Regions from separate parts of the Homo sapiens genome. Here regions 2, 3, 4, 5 and 6 are each linked to region 1. Evidence: promoter capture Hi-C in 16 types of primary human blood cells and fetal thymus (Javierre and others, 2016). All regions are on one chromosome and are shown on one strand. Each heading gives the region's core, a stretch centred on a gene start or on the middle of the fragment in contact. The rest is flanking DNA. Distances are from core to core; before and after follow the strand shown.

Evidence for each region. Contacts are between HindIII fragments. The CHiCAGO score rates a contact against its expected background, and 5 or more counts as called.
Region 2: a contact is called between a fragment that was not itself captured here and the fragment with the promoter of GDAP2 in region 1, in 1 of 17 cell types (neutrophils). The highest score is 5.4, in neutrophils.
Region 3: a contact is called between a fragment that was not itself captured here and the fragment with the promoter of GDAP2 in region 1, in 5 of 17 cell types (total B cells, neutrophils, naive B cells and 2 more). The highest score is 15.7, in total B cells.
Region 4: a contact is called between a fragment that was not itself captured here and the fragment with the promoter of GDAP2 in region 1, in 1 of 17 cell types (total B cells). The highest score is 5.6, in total B cells.
Region 5: a contact is called between a fragment that was not itself captured here and the fragment with the promoter of GDAP2 in region 1, in 1 of 17 cell types (erythroblasts). The highest score is 5.3, in erythroblasts.
Region 6: a contact is called between a fragment that was not itself captured here and the fragment with the promoter of GDAP2 in region 1, in 2 of 17 cell types (naive B cells and fetal thymus). The highest score is 5.5, in naive B cells.

What each region holds. Positions count from the first base shown.
Region 1 is chr1:117,927,724-117,932,762 of GRCh38, forward strand. It overlaps GDAP2 (ganglioside induced differentiation associated protein 2), which reads right to left and starts at 1,898. Exons shown (of 14, transcript NM_017686.4): 1 at 1,725-1,898. It overlaps WDR3 (WD repeat domain 3), which reads left to right and starts at 2,016. Exons shown (of 27, transcript NM_006784.3): 1 at 2,016-2,059. RefSeq lists enhancers at 1,823-2,117, 1,999-2,168. The HindIII fragment of the contact is 4,170 bases long and covers 771-4,940 here.
Region 2 is chr1:117,003,448-117,008,486 of GRCh38, forward strand. All of the region lies in intron 1 of CD101 (CD101 molecule), which reads left to right. Among named protein-coding and RNA genes, the nearest start is that of CD101, 4.2 kb to the left of the region's middle. The HindIII fragment of the contact is 3,226 bases long and covers 1,258-4,483 here.
Region 3 is chr1:117,052,248-117,057,286 of GRCh38, forward strand. All of the region lies in intron 1 of CD101-AS1 (CD101 antisense RNA 1), which reads right to left. Among named protein-coding and RNA genes, the nearest start is that of CD101-AS1, 4.7 kb to the right of the region's middle. The HindIII fragment of the contact is 6,290 bases long and covers 1-5,039 here.
Region 4 is chr1:117,074,899-117,079,937 of GRCh38, forward strand. TTF2 (transcription termination factor 2) reads left to right here. Exons shown (of 23, transcript NM_003594.4): 5 at 1-961; 6 at 1,282-1,396; 7 at 1,743-1,925; 8 at 3,018-3,145; 9 at 4,670-4,751. Among named protein-coding and RNA genes, the nearest start is that of TTF2, 17 kb to the left of the region's middle. RefSeq lists an enhancer at 1,981-3,180. The HindIII fragment of the contact is 6,383 bases long and covers 1-5,039 here.
Region 5 is chr1:117,095,255-117,100,293 of GRCh38, forward strand. It overlaps TTF2 (transcription termination factor 2), which reads left to right. Exons shown (of 23, transcript NM_003594.4): 19 at 55-113; 20 at 895-1,045; 21 at 2,097-2,179; 22 at 3,579-3,653. Among named protein-coding and RNA genes, the nearest start is that of MIR942, 3.1 kb to the left of the region's middle. The HindIII fragment of the contact is 1,982 bases long and covers 1,618-3,599 here.
Region 6 is chr1:117,357,895-117,362,933 of GRCh38, forward strand. No RefSeq gene overlaps it. Among named protein-coding and RNA genes, the nearest start is that of MAN1A2, 7.0 kb to the right of the region's middle. RefSeq lists an enhancer at 1-544. The HindIII fragment of the contact is 3,634 bases long and covers 341-3,974 here.

The DNA of each region.
Region 1 (5,039 bases), core at 648-3,147:
TCAAATATGTCAACAATAAATACAGTATAACAAGAACATTCCTAAGCTTGTCAATGGCTTGGGTCAAATTTAACATCATAATTCAAAAGCACCCAAAGAACATATCCTAACAGTAAATTAGTAGTACCCCTTCATATTAAATGAACTGCACTATGTTTTAATTGTAAATATTGATATATTAGGCATTTTGAAACTTAAATAAGGAAGTAGAGTTACATCCTTGAAACATTGTATAAGGAATTTTGTAAGATGCATTACCTTACCACTCACAGTTGCTCTGATACCAACTCTTATTAAAATCATTTTTTTCCATCTGTGGTTGTCCCATCCCATAATATTTAATAATATTAAGATAGTTTTTTAAGAAAAGGTAAAATCATGACTCATTCAAATATAAAACCAAACCCGTGTTCAAGATTTTATTTAACTCAAAATGGAACCAGGCAGAGAAGATAAAGAAAATCCCAGAATTAGACACCTTAGAGCAGGAATATTGAAATAAATGTGCAAAAGGAGGCAAAACTTCCACTGAATCTCTGAGAGAATTCGCATGTCTTGACAATAATTATTTAGCATTGATGTCACTTACCTAGTTTACGTAACTGAAAAATAGCTTTTTTAGAATTAGTTATTCCAAGGGGTGTTAAGATAGAATCTAAACTATGTAGTTTTCCATTGAAGCACACACTTCTCCCCATAATAATATAATGCACAGCACCTGTCAGGGATATTAACCATACATACCCACTCAAATGCTCCCTTTCCCACCAAGCTTATTAAAATAATAGTTTGTGGCCACAATTTCTTCCCTTCTCATTTATCCAATACACAGCAATCTTGTTTCAAAACTCCTATGCTGCTACAGCTGTCCACAGTCTCATCATACGCATTCTTTGCTATTGCAATTTTCTTGAATATGGAAGATTAGCTGAACATGCATTAAGCTCAGGAAACTCTAAAGAAAATCAGATAATGTAGACAAAAGTCTAATTTCTAGGCTGGCTGCAGATACCTTGTTCAAGAAGCGCCGGCAGGATCTTCTTTTGTACAGCTATGTTAGCTTTAATTTTGCACAGCTCTAGACATCAGAACTCATTTCTAAACACTTCTATGCAGCTCAAGAATAAAAGTAGCAGAAATGCAAGAGAGAAAAGCTAATTCCCACTTGGTGAAAGAGCACTTAAGTCTCAGTGAGCAAACAAGGAGGAGTCAGCCTTGGTCACTTCCCCCTCAAGCGGCCAGAGAGCGGAAACACAAAGCCAGGCCAGTGTCACTCCAGGGATTGCGGGAACCTAGACAACGCACCATCCTGGGCTCAGCGTCTACCCACCCCTCACCCGAGGTGCTCTCGGTTCCGTAGAATGTCCAGTCCACAGGAACGGCAACACGGACTTGTCTTTGGGACTACAACCAGCAAGAGCTCCCGCCTGCCCCATTTCACCTGCACCCTAGGGCGCCCGCCTCCTTGGCTACAGCACCACTGTTCCTAGTGCCCGCCGACTGCCCACCCTTTCACTTCTCGTAGAGACGGCGTCCCCGACAACGCCTCGGGAAAGAACCTAACCAACATGCGAGGAAGTGGCGCCAGGCTCGTTCTTCAAGAGAAGTGACAGAACTAACCCTCAGCCTGCAATCCTGACCAGGGCCGAGTCCCGAGCGCCTCGGACCGCGCCCCCGGCCCTCTCCGCCCCGCCTTCCCTCCCGGCCTCAGTCCCTCCTCTCACAGCACTCTGGTGGTCCCATCCGGGCGGCGGGCGGCACGGATCAGGCTCCTGGTAGAAGGCGGCCGAGCGACATCTCCGGCGACCCTCAGCAGGAGCGCGCCGAGTACGGCGAGTCAAAGTCCCAGGAGACTGGAGTGACCAGCTGCAAATGCTCTGGGCTGCGAAACACCGGCTTCCGCTCCTGGCCAGAGCTCACCAATCAGCGCCCGGCTTTCTCCGTCATTTCCTCCTAGAAGGCAAAGGGAACCTCTGGCGGAAGAGGCTTCCGGAACGGACCCGGAAGGGGCAGGTCTTGTGGGCGGGTCCAATCGGCTGGGAGCCTCGTGGAGGCTGAGGTGAGTCCTGGAGGTGCGTGGTTGGGGCGGAGAGCATTATCTGCGGCTCCGATTTTGCAGATTCTGGCTGAGGCGTTCGTGATGTCAGCAGCAGCCGAGACGGGCGTGTTAAAGGCCGGTTGCTAGGGCTGGGGGAACTCAGGTAACTACGGGCGTCCCCACAGCAGTACTTGGAAGCCCCTCAGCTACTCGGCGCGGTTGCGGGTGCTGAGCAGAGCTGCCTGACCGTGCGTGTGCACGGGCTGGCCTGAGGATGATATGACCGTGTGTTCGGTGTGTGGAACCCTCCGTCACCCTCCCCTGACCGAAGACTCGTTTAGGAATGTGTGGCAGGTCTGTTGCCACGGTCCAGGCCTTCAGTGCATCTTGGAAACATCGTTTTGGGGGCTGTAGGTTAGGAAGCGGAGATCATGGGGTCTCGGAAGAAGGTTTGGTCGTGAACTGTCAGAAAGGAGGCGAAAGCTGTGCACGTGGAACAAAGTGAACAGTGCAAGTTGTATGGGAGGTAGTTTAAATATCGAGGCGATGAAAAAAGGCTGCTAGAATTGGGCTTACTCGAAAGGAAGTGGGCCTCAGAAGATAATATTAGTTAAAAGAAGTAGAGGAGAACATGGATGTTATTCTAAGTAAAACGAATAATATGAAGAATACAAGGTCGCGGGACGAGGAAGGAAACTAGCCAGCCTGACAGGAAGGTTTATTCGAGAAATACGGGGGTTAGATAGGATGAGTTTTTGGAAACTGGCAAACGATTTAGCCTTTTCAAGGCTTTAGGATAGGGAAAGCTCATTTGAAAAGATTAGTCGGTAGTATTATGACGTTTAAATGAAAAGAGTGAAAAACATGGAGGCGGAGGTGCTAGGTGGAAAATCAGTGCAGTAATCCAGTGATAAAGAGCTGGAACTGAAAGTGCTGGAGAGAAAGGGATCCTGTTTCAGAGTAACAGTCAGGTGGAATTGACTAAAGAGAAAGAGGCAAAGAGAAGCAGTTTAGCATAGTGGTTAAAAGCAGAAATTTTGGAGTTAGACTGGCTGGATTGGGATCTGGCTTTGGCAATTAGCTGCTAAATGACTTTGAGTTAGCAATTTGCCATCTCTGGGTCTGAGTTCCTTGTCTGTAAAATAGAGATAGGAAGAGTGACTTCCCTTGTGGTGTTATTGTGGAGAATTTGTTTATTTATTTTTAGAGACAGAGTCTCACTGTCACCCAGGCTGGAGTGCAGTGGCGTGATCATAGCTCACTGCAACCTCGAACTTCTGGACTCAAGTGATCTTTCTGCCTCAGCCTCCCCGAGTGCGTCACCATGCCTGGTTAATTTTTTAAAAAATGTTTTGTAGAGATAGGTTCTTGCTGTGTTGCCTATGTTGGTCTGAAACTCTTGACTCCTAGGCCTTGGCCTCCCAAAGTGCTGGCATTACAGGCATGAGCCACCATACCAGGTCCTTATGGATAATTTTTTTATGCTCATATTTACAATGTGCTAGAGGCTTTTCTAAGTGCTTTGCATATGTTAGCTCGGTTTCATTAATTGCTGTATGTAATTAAACAATTGCATAATGTTATCAGTTACTATAGCGTAAGCACTCTCTAAATCTTGGCTGCTATAATAATATTTTTTTATTAATAATTCAAAGGTTATTAAATGGTTTTGAGCCTGAAGAGCTGGGAAAATTGTGTCTTAGTGTCAGAAGAAAAGAGAGGGGTACCAGAAGTAAGGTAGGCTTGGTTATAGACATGTTAAATGTGAAACTATAAGGTATTCAAGTGGAGATGTTCAGTAAATATTGGAAACTCTATAATTAGTATTCATGTAGGTGGAAAGGACTGGAAATAGACAGATGGGAGTCCCTGGACCTAGGCATGCTATATGAATTCTCCAAGGAAAACACTGTAGAAGGAGGTGGTAGATGGCCAAAGACAGACAAACATAAGGAACAACTACAGAGTCTGGAGGAATAAGAGGAATTGGGAAAGAATTAATCAAATGGCCTAGGCTAAGAGCATTATCACCATGTTAATATTATCTTTCCTTGATTTTAAATTGGCTTTATGTTGGTTCCTGTGAGAGAAGCAATGAGGCCAGTAAGTGATTATTACCAGAAAATATTATCAGAGAGTTGAGATTGAATTTTTTTTGTGTTAGACTAAAACAGCATTTGATAATTAGAAAGACCCTGTAGAGTTAAGCCAACCAACCAAAGAAACAAAAAACAATAGCAAAAAGAAACAGCTCCTCATAAAAGACTGTAACTTCTTTATTTTTGTGTGTTTTAAGTTGCATGGGTGTTTTTTGGGGATACTTTTTACTCTTCCATGTAAAGAACAGATGGGACTGATTTGTTATCTCCTTCATTCACCTCTTGTCCCTTTTATAAATAACCAGTGGATTATGGATTTTCAGTGAATTTAATAAAAGTGCAGAAATTATGGCATCTTTCCAAAAATAGTGTGCCAAGTTGCTCAACCATTTTCTATGCCAAGGGTAAGTGGCTGCTCTGATTTTGAAATGAAGGACAGACTTTCATGTACTAGTAGTTCTCAAAGTGTGGTCCAAGAACTGCAATAGCAGCATCACTTGGAAACTTGTTAGAAATGAAAAATTCTAGGCCCTACCTCAGACTTATGAAATCAGAAACAGGTGCTGGGAGAAGAGATGAGATGGTGTTTTCTAGCAATGTTTTCATAAGCCCTCCAGGTGATTTGGATGTATACTAGAGTTAGAGAACCACTGTACAAGAAGGTAAGTACCATGAGGTTAGGGATTTTGCCTTGTTAATAGTGTATTTCCAGTGTCTAGAATGGTGCCTGTCTAATTGGTAGGTTTTCAATAGATATTCATTGAAAAATATGTTCAGTCTCAGACTGCCAATCTCTGTGTAAAAGCTTTGATGCTGGTTTAATGGGCAGAAGTAAATCAGTTTAGCTGCATTGAGCCTATAATGTCAGATATGCATGAGGTGGGCATGACAACGTGACTAAT
Region 2 (5,039 bases), core at 1,621-4,120, 920 kb before region 1:
CTGGCTTGGCGGGTGTTGATGGATAGGTGCACTGGTGGGATCCTTTGGGGGCTGGTGTGTTTTTGTTGTTTGGTTAAGTTGTCTGAGTGTGATTCTCAAGTGTATGTGCTTTGTGTATTTGAATTCTATGTTTGCTATGTATATAGGAGGAAACTGGGTTTACATTGTGCAATAATTCATAGAATTGCAAATTCTGTCTCTTTTTTTGGTAAGCAGGCTAGAAGCCCTGGGGGAAGGAAAGTAGTAATCAAGGCTCAAAAAGGGGAAGCTGGAAGCTTTTCCTTAACCCATTTAAACAATTACCTAAACTGGGTTATACATTTACTTCTTCTAAATTCTGACTCATCTGAAGCACTAATTTTGTGTAGAAGCACAGTTTTTATGTGAAGAATACATAAATCAGGAAGTTACTGGAAAAAGCTTTAGAAGTCTGCTGTTTGTCCTTACAAATATAGAGGGGAATTGAAATAAATTATTTAAATAACGATCTATTGATCAATTACATTGGTTAGCAAATTTACACTTTGTCCCAATTTTTTTTTAGTAAATATAAGGACTGAACAATCCTGATAGAAAATGGTGCCATATGAGATTAATGTCATGGGTAAATGAGTTCTCGGATTTAGCAGTTAGCTTTGTCTGCTTGATCTATTTCCCCCACCCAAACTAGCTGCCCTACAAATAATGGCCATTAATATGGCAGGGTTTGGGGGAAGGGCTATTGTCTGTCTTACTGAGTTTGCATTCATGAAAAATAAAAAAGATTCCACTTAGTATGGATGGAAGCTATCTCAGCCTCCAAGCATATAGGGTTTTTGAATGTGAAAAGAGAAAGAAGCTGCTTGTTATGTTGGCTATTCCTGAGGTAGGTTTTGTATAAGGTAGCATTATTTGAAACTGCTGTTTTTTTGGTATAAAAAGTGCTCAAGTATGGACCATTTTATACAGTTCAACCTAATCGTTTTCATTCAAATAATACTGCAGTGGTAAATTTGACAATTCCAGTGATATTTTTAAAGAAAGTCAATACCATCGAGGAATTTTTGGTGTTTTGAAAGCATGATTCTAATGTTAGTATGTCAGTGCCAAGCTTTGTACTCATCAGCCAACAAGAATATGAGCTACTATTCAAAAGTAGCTAACCCTCTACCCATTAAAAGAGAGAGCAAGAGGGCAGTCCTCACAGGTGTTTTTCGGAGGGTGGATGATATGTACTTGAAAAAACCCAGAGAGAATATATTTATAGTAAGATGCTTAAGCTTATGGCCCCAGTGCATAGCCATTTGAGTTGATCTCTGCCAGTCATGCCTTCTACCTGAAAAATACCTTTGAAATCTCCACACTATTTCTTTCACTTTTCTCAGAAAGTAGTATGTCTTAGACTGTTTGGCGTGTTGTAGCAAAAGTACCATAAACTGGGGCGGGTGGGGGAGGGGGGCTTATAAACAACAGAAATTTAGTTTTGGAGGCTGGGAAGTCTAAGATCAAGGCACTGGCAGTTTGGTGTCAGTGAGGGCCTGTTCCTCATAGCACCTTCTAACTGTGTCCTCACGTGGCAGAAGGGGCTAGCGAGCTTCCTGGACTCTTTTACAAGGGCATTAATCCCATTCATGAGAGCACAGCCCTCATGACCTAATTGCTTCCTAAATGCCCCATCTCCTAATACCATCACCTTGGAAATTAGGTTTCTGCGTGTGAGTTTTAGGAAGACACAGACGTTGAGACTATAACACAGCACCCTCCCTGTCATCCCTCTACTAGGACATTACTTCATTCATCCTCCTTGCTGGCTTCACCCATTCTCCATCCCACCCCTTCCTACCGCTCCTCACCTAGCTACTCTTTCTAGCTGCCATCCTAATCTTCATTTTTCCTTCTCCATGAAACTCCTGGAAGTAGGTTCCACTTCCTGCAGTCACTTCTTACCCTGAAAACTGCTGCTTCCACTCTATTGAAATCCCTTTTACAAAGATCTTCATGGACATCCTCCTCATCGAGCTAACAGGAGTCTCCTCTGCCTTCAGAGTCCCCAACCTCTTGGCAGCCTTTGGCAGTGCTGACAAGCCCTTTCCTCTTAGAATGTTCTTCCCTTGATTTCCAGCCGCTGTGTCCTAGTTGCCCTCCATCTAACTCTTCCCTCTGTAAGTTTTGTTCCTTATCCCATCCCCTAAAGAGAGAAATTCCCTAGTAATCTCTCCTTAGTCCTCTTCCTTCTGTTCCCCAATACTTCCCAACACTTGTATGTAACTGACCTAATCTACATCTAACAGTTCAGAACTCTCCCTAGTTACAAACAGACATTTACAGGAGCCAACAAGAAACAATGGGGACAGCCATGGATTTGGCATTTGCAGATCTATTAATATGTTCAAGTCTGGCTCAAATCCTAGGAGTTTTTACATAACTAAATATGGGAATATCACAGGGTTTTTGAAAGGATTCGATTACAAATATTTTCAAAGGGTTAAAGTCTATTTAACCCTTTGAAAATATGTATAATTTATATGTAAATATAAATATCTATATTTAAATATTTCAAAATGTTTGCTGGATATCCTTCCTGTCTATTCCATGGTCTTCAAATTTAGTATTTCTAAAATTAAATGCATTATATTTTCACTCACCCTTATACACACAACAGTAACTCTTCCTAATATCTGTATTTCTAGTCAGAGTATCAATATTCTCCCAGGCAGCCTTATCAAACCTATGATCTTTGATTTCTTCCTACCTCTCATCTCGCCATTTAACCCTGCTACTCCCAAGCATCCAACGCACTGAAAACTACAGATTTTGTCTCCACAGTAGCTCAGTTATAGTACCTTTACTTTTATCCCTATTGCTTTTGTCACCTCTGTCCTGAGCTCCTACAATTACCTGATTGTCTATTTCTAACTTCCATCATTCTGCACACAAACTGTGAGGTTCATTTTCCTAAAACCTCCTAAACACTTTCAGTGGATTCCCCATTGCCAATGAATCAAGTCCAAACTTTTAAATGTGATAGTCAAGTCCTTTCTGCTCTGGACCCAAAAATTGCTGTCCAGTTTTACCTCTTTCTATTAATCTTTATGCAGCCCTCCCCCATCCAGTTGATTACTCTTTAATTTTGAGTAAGTCTTTTGATTCCTACTCAGAGTCTTGCCATGAAATCTCCTTCACCTAAAATGCTCTGTCTCCCCACTTACCTTGTCATAATCTTCCCAATTCTCCAAAATCCATTTCTAATGCCATCTCTTATGCCATCTCCATAAACCTATTTCCCTCCCCTCAAAATGTAGTCCCTCTTCAAAATTTTTGAAGCACTTTTATTATATGTTTTCCATAGAGAGGTGACTACTATCCACTTGATTGGATTATGAAATCCAGAAGTCAGAATCTAGCCTAAATTCATCTTCATATCTTAGTCCCTCAAGCATGAGAAATACTATAAGTGGTTGAATAAATATTTATTGAATTGGCAAATAAAGCAGTAGAAAAAGAAGTGCGTGTTTTCACAATAAAAATTTTCAAACGTGGTACCCATCTTGCTGAAAAGTGATGGGAAACGTTCGAGAAGTGTTGCCTAGCCACCAAAAATAACATTGTTTGTAGAAACATGCCTTGATATATGTGGGTTAGTGGTACCTCAAAAGCCACATTAAGAAAATATTTTTATTGTGAAATACAACATAAGAAAATTTTTATTATTTGTTTAAAATAATTTTAAAATAAATTTAAAATTTGTTAAACAAATTTTCAGTTTAACAAATAAGCACAAAGTAAAATCTGTATAATGTCTACCCAGGTCAAGAAATAGAATATCGCCAAGACCCTAGAAGCACCCACCCAGCCCGCAGTGTGCCCCATCAGATCACAAACACCATGCAATCACTTTCCTGACTTTCATGATAACCACTTCCTAGTTTGCTTTTTTTTTTTTCTTTTTGAGATGGAGTTGCCCGGGCTGGAGTACAGTGACGCAATCTCGGCTCACTGCAACCTCTGCCTCCTGAGTTCAAGCGATTTTCTTGCCTCAGCCTCTGGAATAGCTAGGATTACAGGCACCTTGCCACCATGCCTGGCTAATTTTGTATTTTTAGTAGAGACAGGGTTTCACCATGTTGGCCAGGCTGGTCTTAAACTCCTGCCCTCAAGTGATCTGCCCACCTTGGCCTCCCAAAGAGCTAGGATTACAGGCATGAGCCACCTCGCCTGGTCATTTCCTGCCTTTTTGCTAATGATTTCAGCCCTTTATGTGTGCATCACTAAATAATACAGTGTGGTTTCACCTGTTTTTAAACTTTATAAACAGTACGATCATTCTGTATATAGTCACAAGGATTCAGAAGTGTTTTTGTATCTTGCTTTGAACATAGTCATTCATGTTATTGCAAATAGTTGTAATTGTTGATTTTTGTTTCTATATAACATTCCACTTTATGACTGTACCACAGTTTATCCAGCCTACTGTTGATGGACATATGGGTTGTCTCTTGTTTGAAGCTTTAATGAGCAGTGTAGCTGTGCATATTCTTTCACACATAGCTTGGTGCACACATTTCTCTAAGACGACATTACTGAAAAGTGTCTTAAACTGCCACTGTAGTATAACTTGTTGGTAAGTAATAATTTACATTTTTCTAAGGTGGTCTAACTTGTATTCCTAGATTCTTATTACAAAAAAAGCATGATATAAATATGTCACATTAATTTGGACTTATGAATAAATTAGTGTATTCTAAATTATTATAGAGGCTGAGCGCAGTGGCTCACACCTGTAATTCCAGCACTTTGGGAGGCTGAGGCAAGCAGATCACTTGAGGTCAGGAGTTCGAGACCAGCCTGGCCAACATGGTGAAACCCCGTCTCTACTAAAAATATAAAACTTATCCAGGCGTGGTGGCCCATGCCTGTAATCCTAGCTACTCAGGAGGCTGAGGCAAGAGAATCACTTGAACCTGGGAGGCAGAGGTTGCAGTGAGCCAAGATTGCACCACAACACTCCAGCCTGGGTGACAGAGCAAGACCGTGTCAAAAAAAAAAAAATTATTACTAGA
Region 3 (5,039 bases), core at 1,198-3,697, 870 kb before region 1:
CAGCTACTCGGGAGGCTGAGGCAGGAGAACTGCTTGAGCCCGGGAGGCGAAGATTGTAGTGAACCGAGATCATGTCACTGCACTCCAGCCTGGGCGACAGAGTGAGACTCTGTCTCAAAAAACAAGGAAAAAAAAAAGAAATACAACTCAGGATGGCCACCAGAAAACAAGTACATAGCCACTGGAGGTCTTCAGGTTCTAGGTTATCTTGAATGTGTAAAGCAGCGAAGGTTTTAGGGAACAAATGAGCAGTGAGGGTTGAGGAGAAGGTTAGAATTAAGCAGAATAACTGGTATAGGGTTAGGGGGAAGAGGGAAAAAACAGCTTGGTATAAAACTTGAATTAGATACCAAAAAAATGGGTAGGAGGACATGAATAAGAAAGAAAGGATTAATTAGAGGAAAGTTAGGATTGAATAGCTAAGATGAGAACTAGGCAAGTTTAAGAGGTGTTCTGATGAAGGTACAGAGACGTGGGGCCTATGACTGCTCTACTGCTGACAGTATAATAACATTATATGCCATATAAAACAATGGGAGAAAAAAAGAAAAAAACACCAATAATCCTACCATCTTAAATAAGCATTGTTATTATTATTTTGGTACATCCTCTTTGTTATTGTTTTCTATGTGACTGCTTTCAATATCTTTATTGGATTTTAAAAATCGTAACAGAGCAATACATGCTAGTTGTAGAAAATAAAAACTGCACCAATCTCCCAACCCAACCTCCCAGAGGTATATAAATGGAATCATACAGCATATAGTCTTGAAAGTTAATAGTTTTGATGCCAGGTGTGATGGTGTACACATGATCCCAGCCCTTTGGGAGGCCAACGCGGCAGACTGCTTGAGCTCAGGAGTTTGAGACCAGCCTGGGCAACATGGTGAAACCCTGTCTCTACAAAAAATACAAAAATTAGCCAGCTGTGGTGGTGTGCTCTGGTAGTCCCAGTTACTCGGGAGGCTGGAATGGGAAGATCACTGGAGCCTGGGAGAACAAGGCTGCAGTGAGCTGAGACTGCACCACTTCCAGCCTGAGGGGCTGAGTGAGACCCTGTCTCCAAAAAAAAAAAAAAAAACAAATTGACATGACTATACTCATAGTACATAGTACATTGTATAATGTTTGTTACTTAACATTATACAAATGATTACTATGTCTTTTTATGTCTTTGTATTAATAACAATTAATGTCATTTTAACTTAGGTTTAAGTTCCATACAAACGTTAAAGGAAAAAGACTTTCAAGACCATTTAAAAAGAGGAAGATGATGGCTAAAAAGCACACGAAAAAGAGTGCCACATCAATAGAAAAATCAAAATTCAAACAAAAGTCAGATACCACTTCATACCTACTAAAAAAGGCACGCAATAACAAGCATTGTTGAGGACATGAAGAACTGGGAACCCTCATACGTTGCTGGTGGAAATATAAAATGGTATAGCCACTTTGGAAAGTGGTTTGGCAATTTCTTAAAAAGTTAAACAAACTAACCATATGAACTAGCAATTCCACTCACAGGTTTATCTGCCCAAGAGAAATGAGAACAAATGTTCATATAAAGACTTTAACGTTAGGCCGGGTGCGGTGGCTCATGCCTGTAATCCCAGTACTTAGGGAGGCTGAGGCAGATAGATTACCTGAGGTCAGGAGTTTGAGACCAGCTTGGCCAACATGGTGAAACCCTGTCCCTACTAAAAATATAAAAATTAGCTTACGTGGTGGCTCGAGCCTATAATCCCAGCTACTCGGGAGGCTGAGGCAGGAGAATTGCTTGAACCTGGGAGCTGGAGGTTGCAGTGAGCCAAGATCATGCCACTGCACTCCAGCTTGGGTGACAGAGCAAGACTCCATCTCAAAAACAACAACAACAAAAAACAAAAAAACAAAAACAAAAACAATAAAACAGACTTTAACATTAATGTTCATAGCAATATTATTCCTAATAATTCCAAAGGGAAAATGATCCAAATGTCCACCAACTGGTGAATGAACACAATGGAATATTACTCAGCAATAAAAAGGAGTGAAATACTGATACATGTGCAACATGGGTAAACCTCACAAGCATTATGTAAGTGAAAGAAGACAGAGGCAAGAGACTACATATTACATGACTCCATTATATGAAATGTCCAGAAAAGGCAAACTTATAAAGACAGAAAGCATATCAGAGGTTGCCTTGGGACTAGCTGGGGGTGGCAGTTGGGATTGACTGCACACAGCTTTGAGGAAAGTTTTTGAGTGATAGAAATGTTTTAAAACTGGATTCTGGTGGTGATGGCACAACTTTATAAATTTACTTAAACAATGAATTGTGGGCCAGGTGTGATGGCTCATGCCTGTAATCCCAGCACTTTGGGAGGCCGAGGCGGGTGGATCACCTGAGTTCAGGAGTTCGAGACCAGCCTGGCCAACAGGGTGAAACCCCATCTCTACTAAAAATACAAAAATTGGCCAGGCGTGGTGGCGGGCACCTGTAATCCCAGCTACTCGGGAGGCTGAGGCAGGAGAGTCACTTGAACCCAGGAGGCAGAGGTTACAGTGAGCCAAGATCATGCCACTGTACTCCAGCCTGGCAACAGAGTGAGACTCTGTCTCAAAAAAAAAAAAAAAAGAATTGTGGCCGGGCGCGATGGCTCAAGCCTGTAATCCCAGCACTTTGGGGGGTCGAGGCGAGTGGATCACCTGAGTTCAGGAGTTCAAGACCAGCCTGGACAACATGGTGAAACCCCATCTCTACTAAAAATACAAAAATTAGCTGAGCGTGGTGGCACAAGCCTATAATCCCAGCTACTCAGGAGGCTGAGGCAGGAGAATCACTTGAACCCAGGAGGCGGAGGTTGCAGTGAGCCAAGATCCTACCATTGCACTCCACTCCAGCCTGGGTAACAGACAAGACTCCAACTGAAAAAAATACCTGTACATTTACCAAAAAAAAAAAAAAAAAAAAAGAAGAAGATAAAGAGCCTGCATTGAACCACTTTTGGAATAATATTTTAAGAACAGTGAAATTTGGAATCTAGTACTGAAAAAATATTGGTATAACAAAATAATTTGTAAAGTCTCTTGGCTTTACAAATTATAACCACATTTGTTCTCACTATAGTATCATCCTGATCGAGCCTATGTCAAAGGACAAGTTGAAAACAGTCATATGTTTGAAAGGCACAAAATGAAATGAAATGAAATTGAATTACCATTATATATCTTCAAACAAAAAGAATGAAACAGAGGAGGGTGGGCCTCAGTTTGGTTTTTATGTTACTAGGCTGCTACCTAGTGGTCATTTATAAAATGGCAGGACTTGGGTTTTTGGTTTTTGTCTTGGATTTGTTGAGCCATGTCTCTACACCACAGCAAATACCTAAACACTTACCGATGTGTGGGTTAAATATCTGAATGCATTGCTGAATAATTTATGCTTTATAAAAATACTATAGGCTGGGCGCAGTGGCTCAGGCCTGTAATCCCAGCACTTTGGGAGGCCGAGGCAGGTGGATCACCTGAGGTCTCAGGAGTTCGAGACCAGCCTGGCCAACATGGCGAAACCCCATCTCTACTAAAAATACACAAAATTGCTGGGCGTGGTGGTGGGTGCCTGTAATCCCAGCTACTTGGGAGGCTGAGGCAGGAGAATTGCTTAAACCTGGGAAGTGGAGGTTGCAGTGAGCCGAGATCACGCCACTGCACTCCAGCCTGGGCGACAGAGCGAGACTCCGTCTCAAAAAAAAAAAGAAGAAGAAGAAGAAGAAAAAATACTATAGTGGCAAGAACTGGATTGAAAGTTCTGAAAAATGGCCTTTAGTCCCTGATTGGCTGCTGTCAGCTTTGTGACTTTGAGCCAGGTCAAAATTAATCCATGGGGACTATCCGGTTCCAAAGTTTTAGGAGCAGCTCTGTAAGGTAAGTTGGCCTTGGGGCCACCTCCTTAACTGCTCTAAACTTTAGTATCTTCATCTTAAAAATGGGGATAAAAAATCCCATCCCTAGGCTAGTTGTGACAATTAAATGTGACAATGCATATAAAAGTACTATCTCAGAACACACCTCAGGAAAAGTTAGAATATGACTTTCCCTCTCAGAATGTGCCTAATAGGGAACAATCTTTTATCTGCCAATTAAAATTACTCCTTCCCATCCTATCCCAAAGCAACAAGCAAAAACACCAGAAGTTCAGAAAAGTAAATATGATTCTTAGAATGATCTGCTCATTTGAAACATAAATTTGAACAATTTAATTTAAAAAATAATCAATAAAGCATAGCCGCTAGAATTTTACAAATCACTTGAAACTTGGAATTGCTGATTATTTTAAAACAATAAGGTAGTGACCGAGATGTCAAAAGGTGAATGTTCTAGCTCATCCTCTCACCACTGGTATCTTATGGAGGTCTGACATGTTTAATGTATGCCAGCCAGCACAATGCTGACCACAGAAAGTATAATTCTTTCATTTTCCTAGGAATTAAGCTCCACTTTTGTGGGGTTGGACTTGTTCCTGGGTGTGTTGGCTCACACCTGTAATTTCAGCACTTTGGGAGGCTGAGGCAGGAAGACTGCTTGGGCCTAGTAGTTTGAGACCAGCCTGGGAAACACAGCAAGACCTCCTCTCTACAAAAAAAAAAAAAAAAAAAAAAAAAATCAAAAAATTAGTTAGGTGTGGTGGCACAAACCTGTGGTCCCAGCTACTCCAGAGGCTGAGGTGGGAGGATTGCTTGAGCTTGAAAGGTTGAGGCTAGAGTGAGCTATGATTACACCACCGTACTCCAGTCTGGGTGACAAAGCACGACACTATCTCAAAAAAGAAAAGAAAAATAAATAAAAATAAAATGAGTGTCTGTGCTACCCCAGAATTATATTTTATTTTTGAGACAGGGGCTCACTCTGTCATCCAGGCAGAAGCACAGTGGTTCAATCATGGCTCACAGAAGCCTCGACCTCCTTGGGCTCAGGTGATCCTCCCAACTCAGCCTCCCAAGTAGCTGGGACCACAGGCATGCTCCACCAAGCCTGGATAATTTTTTTATTTTTTG
Region 4 (5,039 bases), core at 1,468-3,967, 850 kb before region 1:
CAATAAGTCTCAGCATGCATCTGAGACATTTCATCATTCTTCCAACTGGCTGAGAAATCCATTCAAGGTACTTGACAAGAATCAAGAACCAGCTCTCTGGAAACAGCTCATCAAAGGTGAAGGTGAGGAAAAGAAGGCTGATAAGAAGCAAAGAGAAAAGGGAGATCAGCTTTTCGATCAAAAGAAAGAACAGAAGCCTGAAATGATGGAGAAAGACCTCTCATCTGGCCTGGTACCAAAGAAAAAACAATCTGTAGTTCAAGAGAAGAAGCAAGAAGAGGGAGCAGAGATTCAGTGTGAGGCAGAGACTGGAGGCACACACAAAAGAGACTTTTCTGAAATTAAATCTCAACAGTGCCAAGGTAATGAGCTTACAAGACCATCTGCATCTTCTCAGGAGAAATCAAGTGGTAAGAGTCAAGATGTCCAAAGAGAATCAGAACCTCTGAGAGAAAAGGTTACCCAGCTTTTGCCTCAAAATGTTCACAGTCACAACTCAATAAGCAAGCCCCAGAAAGGGGGACCCCTCAACAAGGAGTACACGAACTGGGAGGCTAAAGAAACAAAGGCAAAGGATGGCCCTAGCATACAGGCCACCCAGAAAAGCCTGCCTCAGGGGCATTTCCAAGAGCGGCCGGAGACCCACAGTGTGCCTGCTCCTGGAGGACCAGCGGCTCAGGCTGCACCAGCAGCACCAGGGCTTTCCCTGGGTGAGGGCCGTGAAGCTGCCACAAGCAGTGACGACGAGGAGGAAGATGATGTTGTTTTTGTTTCCTCTAAGCCTGGGAGCCCCCTACTCTTTGACTCGACTCTGGACTTAGAGACGAAGGAAAACCTCCAATTCCCTGATCGAAGTGTGCAAAGAAAGGTGTCTCCTGCCTCAGGTGTTTCCAAGAAGGTAGAACCCTCAGACCCAGTAGCCCGGCGTGTCTACCTTACAACACAACTGAAACAAAAGAAGGTAACTATTGACTCGTGTTTTGTTTCTGAGGTCAGAGCATTGCTTGTTATGGGCAGATATGAGATCTCATTGCTACAGAAGGGTTAAATATGTTCATGTGAAGGTTTTATAGGTGCATGTTCAGTTTCTGCCTTTTCCCCTATTTATATTTTCAAGATTGGTAAGCCAGCTGGGTTAAAATTTAAAAAAGGTTCTGGTTTTTGCACACATATTTAAAAGACCATAATTTCAGAGTTTGGGTGTTTCAGGCTATTTTAATCTGAAACTATTCATCTAACAGTGTGAGAGGAGAGATCCATTTGATGGAATCTGTTTTTCAGAGCACACTGGCATCAGTGAACATCCAGGCTCTTCCAGACAAGGGTCAGAAGTTGATCAAACAAATCCAGGAGCTGGAGGAAGTACTCAGTGGTCTTACCCTTTCCCCAGAGCAAGGTAAAGTGGCTTATGCCTCAGAACTCCGGGTTTGCATCGACTTTACAAGAGACATTCGGGAAGCCCTTTTAATAAAGAATGTGTTGATTCATTCACTTTTCCATTTTATTATCTGCTTCTGAGACTTCTTTCACATTACACCTATGGTTCATAAAAAACTTTCTCCTGTTTCCTGTGGACTCTACTTTCTTCCCCATTGTTTAAGCAACTGTTAAAATGCTACCTTCTCTAGGAATCCTTCATCGGAATGGTGATGATCCCTCTCTCTTGACCTCACCTCCACACATATGGTCCCTTCACTTAGTTTGCTGAACTTTAATCTGCTCTTCCCTTGTTTTCTGAGCAGGAACTAATGAGAAGAGTAACAGTCAAGTACCACAGCAGAGTCACTTCACCAAAACTACCACTGGCCCTCCCCACCTGGTGCCTCCCCAACCCCTTCCTCGTCGTGGTACCCAACCTGTGGGTTCTCTAGAACTAAAGTCTGCCTGCCAGGTGACTGCTGGAGGATCCAGTCAGTGCTATCGAGGTAAGACCCAAGGGCCTGACCCTGCTGTGAATAGCCACCCCTGTGAGTTACGTGCCACCCGGTACAGTAGTCACCTCTTATCCACACTTTCAGTTAACCTTAGTCACCTGTGGTTCAAAAAAAGGTGAGTACAGTACAGTAAGATATTTTGAGAGAGAAAGAGACAGAAACCACATTCACATAACTTTTATTACAGTATATTCTTATAATTCTTCTATTTTATTATTATTGTTAAATGCTTTCTGTCCCTAATGTATTAAAGTTTAAAATAGGTATGTACGTATGGGGAAAAAAAAAAGCCAAAACATAGTATGTGTAGGGTTCAGTACCATCCAGTTTCAAGCATCCACTGGGGGTCTTGCAACATACGCCCTGTGGATAAGGAGGGACTACCGTAGATGTCTTTGTGCCCACATGAGGGGAGAAGCCATTCTTAAGTCAGAAGTTGCCCATATAATAAAGATTGTGCAGCTCAGTAGAGCTTTGCATCGTGTTACTTAGCTTTCTGTGAGGGCACAGACTGTGTCTACCTTGTTCACCACTGTATGCTGATTAGTCAGCTCAGTGGCTGGCACATAGGAGTCATCCAGTCAGCATTTGTGGATGAAAACTCTAGCTCGCATCATTATGAGGTAGGCAGACCTGCAGATATGCTCTTATTCTTTCGTGTGTGTGTAAGTGTGTGTAAGACTGAGGAGAGACATGAGTCAAGACTGATGACTAATAGATCCACAGAGAGCAATAACACCCTATTAGCTAAGTGTTTCCTTCCTGAACTTTCTAGGCAACTTTGAATTCAGAGGTAACTGCAGAATGAAGATTCCAAGTGGAGCCTGAAATGTGTAATAGGATCAGTTGACAGGAGACTGATCAGGAGATAGGAGCTTGGAGATTGGGTTGGCTGGCAGTGACCAGAAAAGCAAAAGCCACTTGTTTCCCAACTGAGAACTGCTAGAGACATGGAAAGTTGAGGAGAGTAGTTAACAAGGAGGGTAAGAAACAGATACAGGGCCATTTGTAGCTAAGTTCACTCTAAAGGGATAAAGAAAACATACTTGTGACATCTTTTAGGTAACACCTATTTGTATGCAGGCCATACAAACCAAGATCACGTTCATGCAGTGTGGAAAATCACAAGTGAAGCCATCGGTCAACTGCATCGCTCACTTGAGTCATGTCCTGGTGAGACGGTTGTGGCAGAAGATCCCGCCGGGCTGAAGGTGAGCCAGGGAAGACTCCTGGTGTAGTCCTCTATGACAGTGCTCCAGCAGCCCCATGAAACTGCTGGCAGAGAGACTTTCTGAGATACCTTTCCTACAGACAGATGCTTAAATGGCTTCCCTTGCAGCATCCTCTCCTTTTATGCTTAACAGTGCAAACAATAACAACAAAACCCCTTTTTTAAAAAGTCATAAAGTTACTTATTTCTGTAGCAGTAAAGGATCCATTTGTTGAGTTGGTAGGTGCCACAAGAATGTGAAGGAATTGTTGCTTGTAATGAACTAGTTGGGGTGAAAATACATATACAATGTAAATAAAACAATTAGCAAAGGCTTTAAGGCAGAAATAAGGGGTGCCTTGTAATATACTATAAAGTACAAAAGGGATTCAGAATAAAGGAAACATCACTCTAGGTCAGTGATTATTTGTTGTCTGCCTACTTTGTGCCTTAAAGGTTGAAAGCCTTTAGATAGCAGAGAGGAAAGGAATAAAACGCTGCAATTAGAGGGAGTGGTGACTAGTGGGAAGATAAAGAGATTGGTATTCAGAAGTGGTGATCAGCTGTCATCAGTACCTGAGCCAGCAGTAGCAGGTGATGTTACTGAGTAGGAGCCTGGCATTGATGAAGGATTAGATCTGAATAACTCAAGAGATAGTATGGAATCGCTGTAGCATTTAAGCAGGGATGACTGATGAAGATTAGTTTTTCTTAACAGAGTACAAGATAAACTGGAGTACAGAAGACTAGAAGGGGGACTCTGGTCAAAGGGCTATTGAAATTTATGACCAGTAGTGCAGACTGGGACATTGGCTGCAGAAAGGAGAGGCAAATTTAAGAGATAATGAGGAAATAATGAAAAGCCAATGTAATGGCTGCTGAAAATAGGGTCAGAGGTCTTGGTTAAAAGCAGAGAGCTGGGCATAGTGGCTCACACCTATAATCCCAGCACTTTCGGAGGCCGAGGCAGGCAGATCACTTGAGGCCAGGAGCTCAAGACTAGCCTGGCCAACATGGTGAAACCCCATCTCTACTAAAAATAAGAAAATTAGCTGGGCATGGTGGCATACGCATGTAATTCCAGCTAGTCGGGAGGCTAAGGCAGGAGAATTGCTTGAACCTGGGAGGCGGAGGCTGCAGTGGGCTGAGATCACGCCACTGCACTCTAGCCTGGGCAACAGAGCGAGGCTGTCTCAAAAAAATAAAAATAAAAAAATAAAAGCTGTAGAGACTGATTTTGACTGATTAAGCAGACAAATCAGGACTCTCACTTGGGGTGTAGGGGGGACTCTTAATAGAAATGCTGAACATTAGATGCAACCCAAAACAAACAGGGGCAGACCAGGACAGTATGGTTACCCTTGAGAGAGGGTGCTGTTAAGGACTTCAAGGTGAAATGAACTGTCTACAGAATACTGAGGGAATCATTTGTAGAAAATAGGAGAGTGTAGAGTTCGTGTAGCCAGGCTCGGCATAGCCTCTCATTAGGAATTTATGCTTAGCATTTGGTTATTACCTTTGTCAGGTCCCTTTGCTACTACACCAGAAGCAGGCATTGGCTTGGTTACTATGGCGAGAAAGTCAGAAGCCACAAGGAGGAATTCTGGGTAAGTGTGGTATTATAAGAGTCAGCCTTTATTGAATGCTTAGGCATTGTGCTAAACACGTAGTGTTGTTTCATTTATTCCTCTCAAGAACTCTATGAGGCAGGTACTATTATTCCTCATTTTACAGATGATGAAAGTGAAGCATGGAAGTGTTAAGCAACTTGCTCAAGAATACACAGTTTAGGATCAAAGATGTTGGTTGCCAGCAGTAGAAGCTGACTCTGGCTGATTAAAGAGAGGAGGAGTTTATTTTTTGGTGGCTCCCACAATCTCTAGGAGATACGGAGT
Region 5 (5,039 bases), core at 1,359-3,858, 830 kb before region 1:
GATGGAGAAAAGTGAATTGCTTAAACATACAATGTTGATGTAACCTTTTCCCAGATTTCATCTCTGTTGGCAGAATTGGAGGCAATTCAAAGAAATTCAGCATCCCAAAAGAGGTAACTGCGTTTTCTCATTATCCAAGTATTGGTCATAATTATGTGAGAAAATTTGATATTGCCAAGAGTTATAAATCAAGGACTGTGAGTCATGCTCAGCAGAAAGCACTGAGGTTATAGCACACATTCCCTGTGATTTCTAATTAAAATATTTGTGGTACAAATTGAAAAGGAGATCCCTAGAGGATCAGGGTAAGCGAAGCATCTGAAAAAGTGTTTAAAAGTAGAGAAGCATATAAAGAAAAGCAAGCGAGTGAGGAGGCTCCAGCAGTGCTGATAACGTTCTTAAGCTGAGTACTTGGATACAAGGACTCATTTGTTATACCTGACATATGTGCTATACACCTGCATTATTTATAAAATAATTCAATATAAAAATTTAGAACTCGAATTAAGACAGCGTGGGGGCAGGGAGGAGCCTGTTGTTCTGGCTGGCACAAGAAGGGTGGTCAGTGTGTCCCTTTTGTGCAGGACCACAGATTTCTGGATGAGCACTAGGACCCCAAATGAAAGAAGGCTGGAGTCATCACTTTACTCTAGCTACCATTTTTTTCTGACTTCATTTAGCACTAAATAAATTGTAGAAAGGACCTAGAAATAACTGGAAGCATTATAATCTTCAGATATGACCTAAATGTGTGCCTTCTCCCTTAGGTAGCAGAAGGCCTTTCCTTGTCAACATTTGATAGCTAACCTTAAGAATGATGAGGGCATTAAAGCCCTGCAGATGAGTCTGTTTAATCTATGTTAGGGTATTTTTTTATTTTATTCTTCTTTCCAGTGTCATTGTCTCTCAGTGGACCAACATGCTGAAAGTTGTAGCATTGCACCTGAAGAAGCATGGACTGACTTATGCCACCATCGATGGCTCTGTCAATCCCAAGCAGAGAATGGACTTGGTAGAGGCATTTAACCACTCCAGAGGCCCTCAGGTACAAGCTGGTCACATCAGAGCCGCATAATTAACTGTTCTGAGTTATACAAAGAGAATTCTTTTTGTTTGGTTGGTTTTTGTTTTTGTCTTTTTGAGACGGAGTTTTGCTCTTGTTGCCCAGGCTGGACTGCAATAGTGCTATCTTGGCTCACCGCAACCTCCGCCTCCCGGGTTCAAGCGATTCTCCTGCCTCAGCCTTTCAAGTAGCTGGGATTACAGGCTCCTGCCACCAAGCTTGGCTAATTTTTGTATTTTCAGTAGAGATGAGGTTTCACCATGTTGGCCAGGCTGGTCTTGAACTCCTGACCTCAGGTGATCCACCTGCCTTGGCCTCCCAAAGTGCTGGGGTTACAGGCGTAAGCCACCGTGCCCAGCCATATAAAGAGAATTCTGATATGGCAACTTAAAAATATTTACAGCCTTGATTCCTCCGAGTGTTTAGAATTTATTAGACATGTATTGGGATACTTTTAAAGAGCACAAATATTCTAAAAAGAATCAAATATGAGGACTAAAAGGAGATTAACAGCAGAGCTGGTTAGGTTGAGGGGAATCTTTGCAGAGGAGGCAAGCTTTGAAGGATAGGTGGGGTTTTGGTATGAGGAAATATGGAAGGAAATGAAAGAACACAGGCATCTAATTATAGATAATAAAGATTTGGAAAGCATTAGTAGAATGATAGGCAGGAGAATTATTGTAGCAATGGAGGGGTAGGGACTGATGAAATAAACATAATCTGGTTAATTGAAAGTTTATTGAGCTGACCATCCCCAGGGTTCTAAATTACAGTATTTATATATTTTGGCAAGCACTCAGTTAATTTTTTGAGGTTGACTCACACACACACAAAATGTGATGTGAGAATTTTCTCAAAAGTGAGACATGGGAGATAGCATTATAATGTTAAAAAAAAAAACAATTTATAACAGCAGAAGGAAATTTGATAGGAACACAGTGCTTATCTGTATTGATTGTGGACTTAAACCTGAGACCGAGATGTGTTACGAGACCAAGTCTGTTTAAAGTTAATGTTGTGTTTCCTTTTGAAGGTAATGCTAATCTCTCTCTTGGCCGGAGGTGTTGGTCTAAACCTGACTGGAGGAAATCACCTCTTTCTTTTGGACATGCACTGGTAATGATTCCGGATTTGTCCTGGGTTGTCACAGCACATCAAGGAGGCCAGTGGGCTACAGGGGCAGCAAGAACTGACTTCTTATGTTGATTGCTGTGTTCGTATTGCAGAGATGCCTTGCTTTGTATGTGTCTATAGATACAGATCTAAGCAGGGTATAGGGCTAGCTGACTCCCCTGAATTCCTGAGCTAGCAAGCCTTCAAATGACTACTCAAAATAGTTCATTCACGTTATTGTTAGTCTAACATCTGTTTCCATGGAAACGGGGAGCATAGCTTTTCCTCATGGCTAAGAGTTAACCTTGCTCAGTTTTACCTCTTCTCCAGAATACTGTATTCCAGACACACTTGTTGGGGTCCAAGGAAATTTCAACCTTTGAAAAGAGGGAGAAGCATTACTCCAAAAAGAAAAGGAATAGGGATTTTCTAATTATGTTAGAAATACACTTAATACCTCACCCTTGGATTCATTGTATGTAGTGTTAATACCAGGAGTACAACCACATCTTTCGTGGCTACAGAATGAATGAGTTAGTGTGTTGCTAACAGAAAATCTCATAATGAGTACCAGTTTCTGGTTTTCCAGTTATGCCAATCAAGGATTGCTGCTGGGGATTGTCATTGGTCCAATTCTCCAGACAGCCCAGATGGGTACAAATAGGTCAACCTGTTATCATCTTCCAGGAGAACGGGTTTAGTTCTTACTTGGGACTCCTCTGTACACGTGAGTGAGGAAAGCATACTAGGAATCATGCTTTTTTTTTTTTTTCAGAGATAGAGAAATGTTATCCAAGATTTTAAAGAGGTAAGATGAGAAACTAATTTGGAGTTACAATGGGAATCAATAAAGAAGGAAACAAATTAAGTCTCCTTAATCGAATCACAGAATATTCAAGTTGAAAAAGGCAGCTAGTCAAGATCATTAGCTGGCCCTTCAATTTCCAAGTAGCAATCTGAAGCCTAGAGGACTGAGGTTAAATAACTTGCCCAAGGACATCTAGCTACCTAGAGACCAGACCTGAGTTTTGGTTTCACCTCTGTTACTTAAGAGTTGTCAACTGATGATAGTGCTAAGAGCTATTATTAACAGTCTGACCCTAGTTTCTCACTAGAAACTAGGCAAGAAGGTATCTGGCACCAGCTTGTCTTAGGCCAGTATAGCTTAGGACAGGGATCGACAGATTTTTTTTCTTTGAGGCTTTTCAGGCCACATAGTTCTCTGTCACATGATGTGTGTGTTTTGTTTTGCTTTGCTTTCTTTTCTTAAATCCCTTTAAAACTGTAACAATAATTTTTAGCTACAAAAACAAGCTGTGGGCTGGATTTGGCCCATGGCCCATAGTTTGCCATTTCTGATCTAGTATGTCAGTTCCTTTGAGCTTTAGCTGTCTTCTAACAGGAATCCATCACTTGAAGATCAAGCTTGTGACCGAATTTACCGAGTAGGGCAGCAGAAAGATGTTGTCATACACAGGTAAGTAATGGTCCCCAGGACCCAGGACCCTTCTCAACTTGTACTTTGTGAAAGTCTTTCTTTCTTAGGTAGTGTTTTCATAGAATTTAAAGTATTTGGTGATGACTTTACTGATGATGCCCCTGAGGCATACCTTCAGGCAAACCACAGTCAGGAGAAAAACGAGCAATTTGGGGTAAGCTTGAAGTTGGTCACTGCAAAAGAAGAGCAAATTTGTGTATATGGTGAGGGCAGTCCATGAAAGGATGCTCCTATCTTTTATTTTTCTTTTTAACTTTTATTTTGACATAATTTCAGACATACAGAAAACGTACAAGAATAGTACCAAAAAGTTCCCATATATTATGGTGTGCATGTGGGTAGAAACATTTTTCTGGACCACTTGAGAACAAGTTGTAGACCTGATGCTCCTTTGTCCCTAAGTACTTAAGTGTACATTTCTTAAAATTAAGGGAATTCTCTTACGTAACCCCAATAAAATCATCAAAATCAGGTTATTAAAATTAATAAAACACTATTATCTGATCTACAGATCTTTTCAATCTCACTTGTCTCAGTGATGTCCTTCACAGCAAAAAAGAATCCCAGATCCTGGTAGCACGCAGTTTTCATAAGTTTGTCTCCTTTGATCTGGAACAGTACCCAGTCTTTGTGTTTTATGACATTGACATTTTGATGAGCATGAGCCAGTTATTTTGCAAAATGTCCTCTGTTTTGGACCCCCTTGTCTTTAAAAACAACAAAACCTGCCTTAATGCTGCCAATCCCCTCTCACAATGGCCCTCTTTTTTGCCTTCCTTTTCATGACCAGGTTTCCTGAAGAATTAGGAATCACTGCCTATCTTTACTTGATTACTTCCCATTCATTCCTCAGCCTTTACAAACTGGCTTTTACTCCTGTTGCTGCACTGAAATTGCTCTTGTTAAGGGGCACCAATGACTTCCAGACTTTGCTAAATATAGTGATTATGATAGTCTTCCTATGCTCTCTTCTCTGCTCATTCTGTACATTCCTTCCTTCACAAATTCTGTGCACTCCAGTAAGTCCAAAATTTGTATCTTTAGTTCCAAGGTCTCCTAAACTTCAGACCTATCGCAGTCCCTGCTAAATATCTGAATCCGAGTGTCCACATACTCATCTGTTATTCCTTCTTTTATTCATTGTTCTTTTGAGCATTCAGCCCATAAAACATACCTTTTGAGCACCCACTATGTAGCAAGTATAATTACATGTTTCAGGTACTCAAATGTTACAAATAGAAATTGATTTTCTCTTCCTATTATCTCAAATCTGCTATTCTTCTGTAGTCATTGTCTTTGTGAATAGTATCACTCTTTATCTAATTATCTAGCCAGAACTAGACTCCTACCTTTCTCGCTTTTCCA
Region 6 (5,039 bases), core at 908-3,407, 570 kb before region 1:
GAATGCTGCTGTCTAATCGTTCCTCTGGAAGTTTTGTCTCAGAGGAGTACCTGGCCCTGTGAGGTGTCAGTCTGCCCCTACTGGGGGGTGCCTCCCAGTTAGGCTGCTTGGGGGTCAGGGGTCAGGGGTCAGGGACCCACTTGAGGAGGCAGTCTGCCTGTTCTCAGATCTCCAGCTGCGTGCTGGGAGAACCATTGCTCTCCTCAAAGCTGTCAGACAGGGACATTTAAGTCTGCAGAGGTTACTGCTGTCTTTTTGTTTGTCTGTGCCCTGCCCCCAGAGGTGGAGCCTACAGAGGCAGGCAGGCCTCCTTGAGCTGTGGTGGGCTCCACCCAGTTCAAGCTTCCTGGCTGCTGTGTTTACCTAAGCAAGCCTGGGCAATGGCGGGCGCCCCTCCTCCAGCCTTGCTGCCGCCTTGCAGTTTGATCTCAGACTGCTGTGCTAGCAATCAGTGAGACTCCGTGGGCGTAGGACCCTCCGAGCCAGGTGCGGAATATATTCTCCTGGTGCGCCATTTCCTAAGCTCGTTGGAAAAGCGCAGTATTCGGGTGGGAGTGGCCCGATTTTCCAGGTGCCGTTTGTCACCCCTTTCCTTGACCAGGAAAGGGACCTCCCTGATCCCTTGAGCTTCCCGAGTGAGGCAATGCCTCTCCTGCTTCGGCTGGCGCACGGTGTGCGGCACCCACTGTCCTGCACCCACTGTCTGGCACTCCCTAGTGAGATGAACCCGGTACGTCACATGGAAATGCAGAAATCACCCGTCTTCTGCGTCACTCACGCTGGGAGCTGTAGACCGGAGCTGTTCCTATTCGGCCATCTTGGCTCCTCCCGCTCTGGCTGAATTCTTTAGTACATCCCTTTAATTCACTACTTTTTCTCTTTGACTTTGATTAGCTCCATATATCTTTTGATTTCAATGACCATATTTTTATTTTTCAAATTTTTGTTAGTTCTTTCTCATATTTACCTGTTTTTTAATTCAGCCTGTATCTGTTCCTTAATTTCTTGTCCTTTCAAAATGGGTGCTATGCATCCATTTATTGCATATCAAATTCAAAAATATTTAATTTAAAAATATTTGCCAGATAGTTCCATAGAATTATTTTTATCTGGAGTAAATACATGCTCTGAGTGTCCGTTTTGTTGGCTAGCTTTCATAGTATTAGATATTTTTATGTGATTGAAACTTGGTGGTCAGGCTCATTTTGAGGGAACGTTTTTATTTGCTTTTTCCTGTTTTGTTTTAGTTTATTTTCTTTTTCTCACTCCTTCTGGGCTCACCTCCATGCTTAGTGATTTTACCTCCATGCTTAGTGATTTTGCCTCCATGTGTCTCCCCAGACCTCTATTCTAGAATTAGATCTAAAGCTGGCATCTTGATGCTCCTATTCCTAGTGATGCCACAGGCCAAATCACATGGCCAGCTGCTTGGCTTGGTTCCTGACTCCAAGGCTGTGCCTTTGTTCTTCTACTTTACCAGGTAGTGGGTTGGCAGCGGTTTATATGCAGCCTCCTTTCAGGAGTTCCTGGCTTCAAGCACTAAGTCTGGCTCCTGCCCTCAACTGAACCATCTGTAATTCCTTTCACCTTGCAGGAGACAATAATCTTGGCTTTTGAGCCTGAGACCACAGTGAGCTTGTAGCTCCAGGCTTGCTGAATGCTTTCTGTTTGGTTCCACTTTAGATCCATGAAAATGATCATTTTGTTCTTGAGCCTGGTTATGTCTTTTTGGTTTTCTCTATTTTTTAGCCATCATTTCTCTGTGTGTGGAGGAAAAGGAGTAGATGAAAGCATGGTGTTACTGCACCAAGTTGAGTAGACATATTTCTGTGTGTACTTCTCCATTTTCACCTCTCACCATCGCTACCTTACAATTTATGTTCTAGCCATAATGAACTACTTTCAGTTTCCAGAGGGTCAATAAATTGCATGCCTGTCTCCCAACCCCCAACTTTGGATGAAATAAGACAACAGACGAAAGTCATATAGAGACTTAAAAAAATTGATATCTATATTATATCTATCTACCCTTATGCTTCATTACAGATAAGCTAATAAAACTAGGTTATAGATCTGTAACCCAAAAGGGCTTGCCAACATTCTCTGCTGACTCTCGACCCCCACAGAATCTAGCCTTGGAACAGCCCACTAAAGGGGAAGTTTAGGTCTGCTGCCAAACATGTTTATCTAAGATCATTGTCTGCACTGATCTAGGGCAGAAAGGGAAAAAAAAGAATGAATTTATTAGATTAGTTCCATCCAGTCAAGAACTATGAGCTAATGAATGTAACAGTACTCACCAATCAAGTAACGCACTCCTGAGTGTGAAGAATAGTGGTATAAGAAAGCAGAACTAGCACTCCAGTAGAAATTCCCCTCTCCTCCCATGGAAACATGGTGCCAAGGGAGAGGAGGTTCCCTTAACACCTTAACACACAGGACATGCTCCTTCTCATTCCTCTAAGTCTTGTCTTTTTCTTTCCTTCCTTCCTTCCTCCCTCCCTCCTTTCTTCCTTCCCTCTCTGTCTCTTTTATTTTTATTTTTTGAGACAGAGTTTTGCTCTTGTTGCCCAGGCTGGAGTGCAATGGTGCAATCTTGGCTCACTGTAATCTCCGCCTCCCGGGTTCAAGAGATTCTACTGCCTCAGCCTCCTGAGTAGCTGGGATTACAGACGTGTGCCACCACGCCCGGCTAATTTTGTATTTTTAGTAGAGACGAGTTTTCTCCATGTTGGTCAGGCTGGTCTCGAACTCCCGACCTCAGGTGATCTGCCCACCTTGGCCTCTCAAAGTGCCGGAATTACAGGTGTGAGCCACCGCACCTGGCCCTTTTGTCTCTTTCTTTGGAGACAAGCTCTTGCCAGTTTGGAGTCCAGTGGTACCATCATAGCTCATGGCAGCCTTGAACTCCTGGGCTCAAGCTATGGGAGACGAGTTTCCCTTAACACATGCCATGCCCTTTCTCCTTCCTCTATTCCTTGTCCCCCCTCCCTTCTTCCCTTCCCTTCCCTCCTTCTCTTCCTTTCCCTCCTTTCCTTCCCTTCCCTCCTCCCCTACCCTTCCTTTCTCTTCCCTCTCTTTTATCTTTTGAGACAAGGACTTGCTCTATTACACCTTGAACTCCTGGGCTCAAGCTATCCTCCACCTCAGCTTCCTAAGCAGCTAGGACTACAGGCGCACACCACCGTGCCCAGCTAATTTTTAAATTTTTTTGTAGAGACACGGTCTCACCACATTTCCCAGGCTTCCAAAGCTGGGATTACGGGTGTGAGCCACCACACCTGGTCCCTGTAAGTATTTTCAAAGGCTCTTCCTTCCTCTCTTTATCTACCAACTCTTACTTTTTCTAATGCCTATAATAAAAACAATAGTTAATACTTATTGAATCCCAACTATGGGGGGAAGCACTATCACATACATTATTGAGTTTAATCCTCATAACAACCCTATGAGGTGTGTATTTTTATCCTGATTTTATGGATGAATAAATTAAGAACAAGTAAGATTTCCTTTGTTTCCAATATTATGCAAGTAAATGTCAGAGGCAAGATTAGGCCCAGGTTTCTCCAGCTCCAGAGCCCATGTTCTTTTCATCATATACAGCTGCTTCTCATGTTTTATTCATCTCTGGATGCCTAGAACACTGCATAACACCAACAGAGAGTGAGTGCTCAATAATAATGAATGAATGAATATATAAATCAATGAAACATATTCTCAAATTAGCTGCCTAGAATGGATTTAAAACAATTTTAATATAAGGATTTATAAAGAATTCCTAACCTCTTTTGGAGTCAAATTCCTTTTCATAAAGGTGGATATGAGGATCCAACTTGGAAGGTTTCTGTAGGGGTTGCTAGCTTTGATATACCTCTGCAGTCACATCTGTCCAGCCCTCCCAGTTTTAGGTTTTCTTTCCCTGGCCGACCACAGAGACATCTCTGCTGGTTTCATTCTGCTTTTGTCCCTGCCCAAGCTTGTTGCCTACCTGAAAGAGTAGGTTCCTTCTAGTCCCTGATCACTTATACTTGTAAAACTACTGAAGCTTCACATACTACTACCAGCCACAATACCTCCATGTAAAGACACACTGTGTATTAGTCAAGACTCTTGAATGTAAGCCACAGAAACTAATTCTGACTGAAAAAGAAATTTATAGACTTATACAACCGAGAAATTCAAAAGATGAAATAGCCTTAGATATACCTGGATTCAGAGAAGTAGATTTACAATGAGCCCAATGAAGTTTAAATTTCTGGGTTACTAATTGCTCGGTCCTGTCTTAGGCTCTGGGAGAGGTCCTAGCAACATGTATACATAATCATGTTTTTCTAAATCTTGTAAAAATAAAATATTTCAATCACGATTGGTTAAGATTGTGGTTTCTTTTCTACTCTGATTTCCTATCCGTCACACTGCTCCATTGGTCGCGTGGGTCGGGTGGTGGTGGTGTGGTCTCAGCATTACTAAGACATACTCACTTGTAATGGAATTCAGTTTAGCAAAATCCTTTTTTTTTTTTCCTGAAATGGAGTCTCACTGTGTCACCAGGCTGGAGTGCAGTGGCGCGATCTTGGCTCACTGCAATCTTTGCCTCCCGGGTTCAAGCGATTCTTCTGCCTCAGCCTCCTGAGTAGCTGGGATTACAGGCGCTCGCCACCACACCCAGCTAATTTTTGTATTTTTAGTAGAGACGGGTTTTCACCAGGCTGGCCATGATGGTCTTAATCTCCTGACCTCATGATCCACCTGCCTCGGCCTCCCAAAGTGTTGGGATTACAGGTGTGAGCCACCACACCCGCCCTAAAATCCACTTTAATAATTCATTTTGTATTATTTTTCTTAAAGAGGACTCCTCAAATTAGGTATGCTTCCAGCCCCACAAGACCCAGATCCACCCTTACCAAGGGCTCAAGTGATACCATGTAGATACTTTCTCTCTCACTGTTTCAGCTCTTTTCTTCTCTGTTTGCTTCATTAGTAGCAAACTTCCTCACATGGTGGCAAGAAGGCCACTGGCAGCTCTAAGGTTATAGCAC